2 separate regions of the Homo sapiens genome follow, and region 2 is linked to region 1. The links are contacts of gene promoters, found by promoter capture Hi-C in human tissues and cell types (Jung and others, 2019). All regions are on one chromosome and are shown on one strand. Each heading gives the region's core, a stretch centred on a gene start or on the middle of the fragment in contact. The rest is flanking DNA. Distances are from core to core; before and after follow the strand shown. Region 1 holds the start of HEPHL1 (hephaestin like 1). Region 2 has its middle 40 kb from the start of HEPHL1.

Region 1 (3,412 bases), core at 678-3,177:
GTGATCCTTGGCTTCCCTCAAAGTTGTTTTAATTCACTGGAGAAGGATCACCTTTACCAAGAAACAGATTGTGTGGTGAAAAGAAATATGGGCTGTGGAACCAAAGCAATGAGTTTGGTGCTACCACTTACTTATAAACTCCGGCAAGTATTTAACCTCAGAGCCTTGGTTCCTGGTTCATAAAATGAGAATAATAATATCTGCAAGCAGTAATGAATTGAAAAATCCCTCATAGAATTTTTGGGTCAGAATAAATGCCCATACACAGCTATAGTGACGTGGGCATTTTAGGAAGAAGAATTTCTGTGGGTGTTAATCTTATGGAAAGGCAATCCAGTATCACATTTAGCTTAAACGCTATATTCATTACACTCAGTGTACACACTTTCAACATTCTTATCCCCAGTAGCTGCTCACATTGACTGTTTCCTACTGAGCCCTCTCTGAGAATAGCAGAGCTCTATTTGTAGAGAAGGCTCCTGGCATTTTTGGTACCCTTTCAATCCCATAGCTATTCATCACAGTAAAGACACTACCACCAATGGTCAGCAGATGTGGGATTGAAAGCAATCAAGAGTTTCCTTTGGAAATAGCCCTGCAGACATTACATTTCCAGGTACAAAGCTTAAGGAAAAGTCTGCCTTGGCAGCTTGTCTGGCACAGGCTTCATCTTTGGTAAACAAAACATGACTATACCACCTTTGTTTTGTTAGAAAACTTGGAAGCTGTATTTCCAAGCCAACTGGATCTTTGGTCTTTCCTCAAAGACAAGGGGCCCTGGCTCTTAAAGACTTGCTGGTAGGCCCTGTGCTGTTCCTGAATTTTATCAACTAAACTCATCTTTAGGAAATGGAACATGGATGCAGAATGCAACTGGTTCTGCCTGTCAGAAAAGAAGCAAGCATTCAAATATCCAACAGAGGTTGCCAAAACATCTGAAAAGATGTTCTAATAACCACAAAGTTGAAAATAGCATGACATCTTCTGGAGTCAGGAGGTGACTTCAGAGGGAGATCCATGAAACAAATTAGATGGTTAAGATACTAGGCCCTGGAGGGGGCAGGGAGAAAGGGTTATTTTCTGCCCCAAATTAAAAATCAGGAACATAGAACACCGTGGCGCCATCTCACCTAGCTATGCTATAGGTTCTGGGATAAGATATTGCCCTCAGCAAGAATGACTTGGAGCTGGAATAAACTTTTTACCAGTGAAAGCGCTAATTCTAAGTAGACTCAAGGAAACCCTGAAAATAGCAGGCAAATCTCCTGTGACTTCCCCCTCTTTTAAACGTTGAAAAACATGACTTAGCATACTTATCTCCCATTATGATGTTTCATTCCAGAAATACAAACTAAGAAAACACTGTGTTTTAACCATAAGGAATTCTTGAAATTTCTCAAATCTTCATCCCAAGTGTTGTCATTTAAAAACAAACAAACAAACAGAATCCCCCAGAAGTTACTAGTAGTACCTGGTGGAAATTGTCAAACACCTGGTTGTGTATATGTCCCTTCACAGGCAAGGCTATTAATAGGTGGCTCAACAAATACATGGAGCTATGAATATCTCTTCCAGATTACACACCCATCCATACTAGGGCTCTTCAAGCAAAAAACAAAACACCTTCTCTTGGTCTAGATCAACTCACCCCCATTGTAAGTACCCAAGAAATACAACCTTCCCCACACAAAGTCAAAAAGAGGCCAAACCTGGGAGTCAATGAGGACCCTAAGTTCACTCACTTGTCTTCTGTGAAACTTTTCCCAGTAATAACATTCTTCCCTTGGGGTACATAGTTCCAGTATTCTTCCACAATCCCAATGTAGTACGTTCTGGTAACTGTGCCAACCAGCCCAGACAGACCCAGGAATGTGAGGAGAAAGATGCAGCCAGCTGGCTGCTTCCGAGGCATTTGTGGATGTAACTCAAGCAGGCAGGCAGCCTGCACAGGGGACAAATCTGTTGGTCCCTCCCCCTCACTCAGCTCCTCCTCCTCAGGTAGCTTGGGTTTGGGGAAGAGGCAAAGGCTGAGGCCTTGCGTAAGCAAAGCAAGCTCGATGGGGGCGTTGCTTTGACAACAAAACTTTTGCCAGCCATCCGAGAAATGTGTGACTGGCTCATTTATGTATTGCCCAAGCCAACAGGCCTGTTTCTATACGTTTCGGTACCATGCTCTGACATCAGTCATTTGTCAGCCAGGATGACAGTGTGACTACTTGAGCCGATGGCTTTCCCCCACCCCTTCTTCTTCTTTTCTTCTCCACACCTCTTACATTAAAATCTGAAAAGTGAGCTGGCCTGAGTGGAGCATCAGGAAACACTCCAGGCACTAAAGAAGGCCTCCTCTCTGTCGGGAGGGCAGAGGAAGTGACATAATCACCATCCAGCTTGTTTTATGAGGCTATGTGAAACCACAAACTAACATCATAAAGTTCATCACAACAACATAAAACCCCACTAATCCTCCACTGGCTCGTGTACCATCTCCCCCATATTCTCTCAAATCCTTCCAGCAAAAATGAGAAGGTTGACTGCTCAGTTCAGCCAAAATGTTCGCGGCCACCACCTCCACACAGGGAGCCGCCTTTCTTAGGATGAATGAAAATGATGATGGGGAAGTACCCTTCAGACACATGGAGACAAAATTCAGTAACAGGTCTTTGGGTGGAAAAGGCTGGGCCATTCTTCTGTGTCTTCTAATCTGTGTCCCAGAATCTCGGTATTGAAAGAGACCTTGATCAACCTTGGAAAAGAGTTACTCTTATCCCCATGCACAGTTACTCTTGAGGGAGCAGCCATGGAATGAAGGAAACAGCCTCCTGGCCTTTGAAGTTGGTCAGACCTGGGTTTGAATGTGAGTTCCCACCACTTTCCAATTTAGTGGCATGGAGGAATCACTTAACATCATTGAGCTGGAGACTATAGAAGAAGGATTGAGGGATTCTTAAGGAACTTTTTAAAAGATGATGTCTGCAAAGTGCTTACCCCAGCCCCTAGCATAGGGTAGGTACTAAGTAAGTGTTAAAGTCCTTCCTGCCCATTCATGCCCTCTAAGAGAGACTGTATCAACCTGTGTATCCACAGACTTGTGTTTCCCCGCAGTCTTCAACTTTCTTTCCACTATTCTTTGCCAAAGTCCTATCTGCCATGCCTTCCACCAGTCTCAAGTAAGAGAATTCTTTTTCTTTAAATGGTAGCTACCCTATAAATGTCCCATAGCACAGTTTGTATTAGCATTCATCTTAATTAATAAAAGGCCAGGCACGGTGGCTCAGGTCTGTAATCCCAGCAATTTGGGAGGCCAAGGCAGTCAGATCACCTGTGGTCACGAGTTTGAGACCAGCCTGGCCAACATGGTGAAACCCTGTCTGTACTAAAAATACAAAAATTAGCCGGGCGTAGTGGCAGGCGC
Region 2 (3,383 bases), core at 260-2,759, 39 kb after region 1:
TACTGTTCCCTCCCTACACCCTGATAGACAACAGGAGAAGGTGGTGTTGTCAGAACTAAAACACAAGCATGGTCTGGCTGGAGCTACAACCATAGTGGGAGCTGCCAGTCAGAGTTGGGATCACAAAGTGAGAGGTAATCTTGCAGAAGTTGGGGCCCAGAGGAGACATCCACTGCCAGAAGTGCCACCCAAAGCTAATCAGGAGAGGCAGAAATATCTTGGCCAATGCATCCTACTGGGCTTGACACCCAGAAGCCAGTCGACAAGATATTTGGGGAAATGTAGTTCTCTACAATATGTAAAAGGGCAAGGGGAAGGTAAAGTATGGTAAAGTGAACAAAGAATTTGTCTCTCCAGCCTGTTACCACAGCAGTGTTACTATTCTTATTATAATAATATATGCGGCATGCTTACAATTGGCCCCCTGGATTGACCCCTGGCTCAATAGTGCCACAAAGATTGTTCAACTTTTGCTTGGCTATTTCCTCAGTGTACCTTTGTCTGTGCTTGTCCAGTTACCCTCCTGTGCCAATGGAAGCAAACCTGTGGAATGCCCATACACCCTAAAATCTCCAGCATACAGGCAAAAATAACAACTAGCCACAAGAAGGTGCAAAGAATGCTTTAGCCTAAGCTTTAATACTTGACAAATATGTTAGCCTCAGCAAGTTATTTAAATAGCAGTCGACCCACCAGTAGAATGGGGCTTAACAAATACTCCCATATTACTGTGAGAAGAAATTGAGATAAATTATGTAAAGAACCTAATGCATACTCTATACACAATATATGATTATTATTATCATTATTCACTCATTCACACACATGCATGTGCTTCATTATTTATTAATAGAAATAATAAACTACTATGTCTGGCTCTCTGCTGATTTGCCTAGATTTTTTTTTAAAAGCCTTCAACCAGGTGCAGTAGCTTACACCTGTAATCCCAGCATTTTGGGAGGCTGGGGTGGGAGGATTTCTTTAGCCTAGGAGTCAGAGGCAGCCTAGGCAACACAATGAGACCCTGTCTCTATTAAAAAAAAAAAAACTTTCTATGTTCATTTCAGAAACTAATCCTAAAATATGTGCCTAACTCTAGTCCAGGGTAGGTATTGTGAGTAAAGTCATGAACAAAAGACAAAATCTCATCCTCCTGAAGCTTATATTTTAGTGAATGTTAATGCATCTTTTGGTCACATGAAAAAAAACGAGTTGAAGTTTTCTAGCAGGCACTTTTCAGCCCTGAAATACATAATTTTTACTTCAGTTTCACTCAAAATACAGCAGAATAACCAACATTTACAAATGTTCAACACTAGACATAAATTAATCCATGAGTTTCATATCACTGGTCACAGACCACATTAACGTAAATGGCACTTGCCAAGGCAATTGTAGCAAGAATTTTTTCATCAGATAAGAAAATTGCAACAGACAGCCTCAAAAATTCCTCCTAAATAATTTACAAGACATATAAGCTAGGCTTGAAAGCTCTTTAAGATCTGTCTTGCCTCACCATCGTATTCCCAACACCCAGCATAGTGCCTGGCATTCAACAGGTACCTACTAAATATTAATACTTGTTAAATAAATGACAGATGGCTCTATGATTTTGGATTTATGATTCCATTACCTGGTACATGAGCCTTATTATAGCACCTACCACATTGTGTTACAGCTGTTATTTATTCTGCCTGTTATCCACACTCATTTCTGACCTCCCCAAGGTCTGGGGCTGCTTTTTGCCTCTCTGCTACCCAGCTCTGCACACAGCAAAAAGCCAATACTAAAAAACTGTCAAAGGGAGGGAGGGACAATATATGAACAAATTAATGAATTATTTGAGCCAAAATATTATGATTTATGAACATATAAACTACACACCTCTTGTTAGAGACTCATTAAAAAAAATCAAGACATAAGGGATAAAGACCCATCAGCAAAGTGGCAGAAGAGATTCTAGGACTACAGGAGAAAACTGGTTATGGAAATAACTGCTAACATTTCCGAGGGGACACTGTATCTTAAATCAATCAGAATAGAGTAGAAACTTACTATGTCCAAATCCCCTTGGTAAGTGCTGAGAGGTGACAACTAGAACTTTCCAGAACTTACAGTCTAGATCATTAGCTCTGTCCCTCAAGAGAACCCTGACAAATACACTGAGAAAGGAGTTAGAGGGCCCTTCTGCAGGGTCAGGAGCTTACTGTCGTCCTCTCATAGAGCAGTGGTCAAGGCTCTCTGCAGAAATAATAGGATAAGATCAGAAGTTCTCCAATTTCTATAAAGCTGTGAGACAATTTTATGCATTTATTGCAGAAATTAATCATAATGCAAAGGAGGAAGAAACAGGGTAGTAATGTAAGAAGGACTAGAAGAGGCAAAAAGGAGAGAACATACAACTCAAGCTCCGTTTGGCCTGCTTTTCTGAAACTGCACAACGTTCTCTAATTTAGGGCCCTTCAGAGTCAGGCAGAAACTCTGAAATCAAATATACTTTCATACCTGCTCTGCAATCAGATGCTGACAATGACTAGAAGATAAACATGGATTTGTAAATTCAGACACATATGAACAAACTAGTGTGTTCTGAGAAGGCTGAAAAGAATTCAAGAGTTAAGTTGAAATGGTTTCCTTAGGTTAGTTAGTATCTTACAAGCATTTCAAGTGCTGTGCTCGGTAAAGATTAAAACACTGTGAGCAGAACTGTGTCTGTGTCTTCAGGAAACTTATAACCTTTTAAGACACAAAAGACTGTCTTTATTCTCTCTCTGACTGAATTTACTCCCTCTGCTCTTGAGTGCATCAAGATAGGCATAATTCTGATTGGAAACTTCCTCCATTTAAGCACTTATTCCTGGCTAACACCCCAAAACAAGCTTCTAAATCTGAGTGTTCAGTATGGTGACCACTGGCCACATGAGGCTAGATGAGCTCTTAAAATATGGCTAGTATAATGGAGAAACTGAATTTTTGTCTCTAATTAATTTAAATTTAATAACTGATACTCAATTCAATTATTGGGAAATGTTCCGGTATGTTTGATACAACCTAAGTATGTGAATCTGCTTTTTCAACTGTAAATTTTATAAATTTTATCTAAACACATATCAAGCATTTCCATCAAAAATTTAAAATCCAAGTTGAGATGTGTTGTAAGTATAAATACACACTGGAATTCAAAGACTTCCTATGAAATCATGTTAAATATTTTATTAATAATTTGTATATTGATTACATGTTTAACTTTTATTTTTAATCATTGGGATAAAACTGGGATATGATAACAAATATGTTATTTAAATGAACTTCATTTTTTCTCTTTGACTATTTCAACTTTTATTATAAGAAAATCTATAATTATACATGTGGCCTGCATTATA

What was found. The method cuts DNA at HindIII sites, captures the fragments that hold promoters and counts their contacts. A contact is called where the count stands out against the background at its distance.
Region 2: a fragment that was not itself captured here is called in contact with the fragment with the promoter of HEPHL1 in region 1 in 3 of the 25 tissues and cell types used here (bladder, liver and neural progenitor cells).

Annotation. Positions count from the first base shown.
Region 1 is chr11:94,019,869-94,023,280 of GRCh38, reverse strand. HEPHL1 (hephaestin like 1) reads right to left here and starts at 1,927. Exons shown (of 20, transcript NM_001098672.2): 1 at 1,743-1,927. The coding sequence starts at 1,912. The HindIII fragment of the contact is 8,979 bases long and covers 1-3,412 here.
Region 2 is chr11:93,980,018-93,983,400 of GRCh38, reverse strand. No RefSeq gene overlaps it. Among named protein-coding and RNA genes, the nearest start is that of HEPHL1, 40 kb to the left of the region's middle. The HindIII fragment of the contact is 3,424 bases long and covers 1-3,221 here.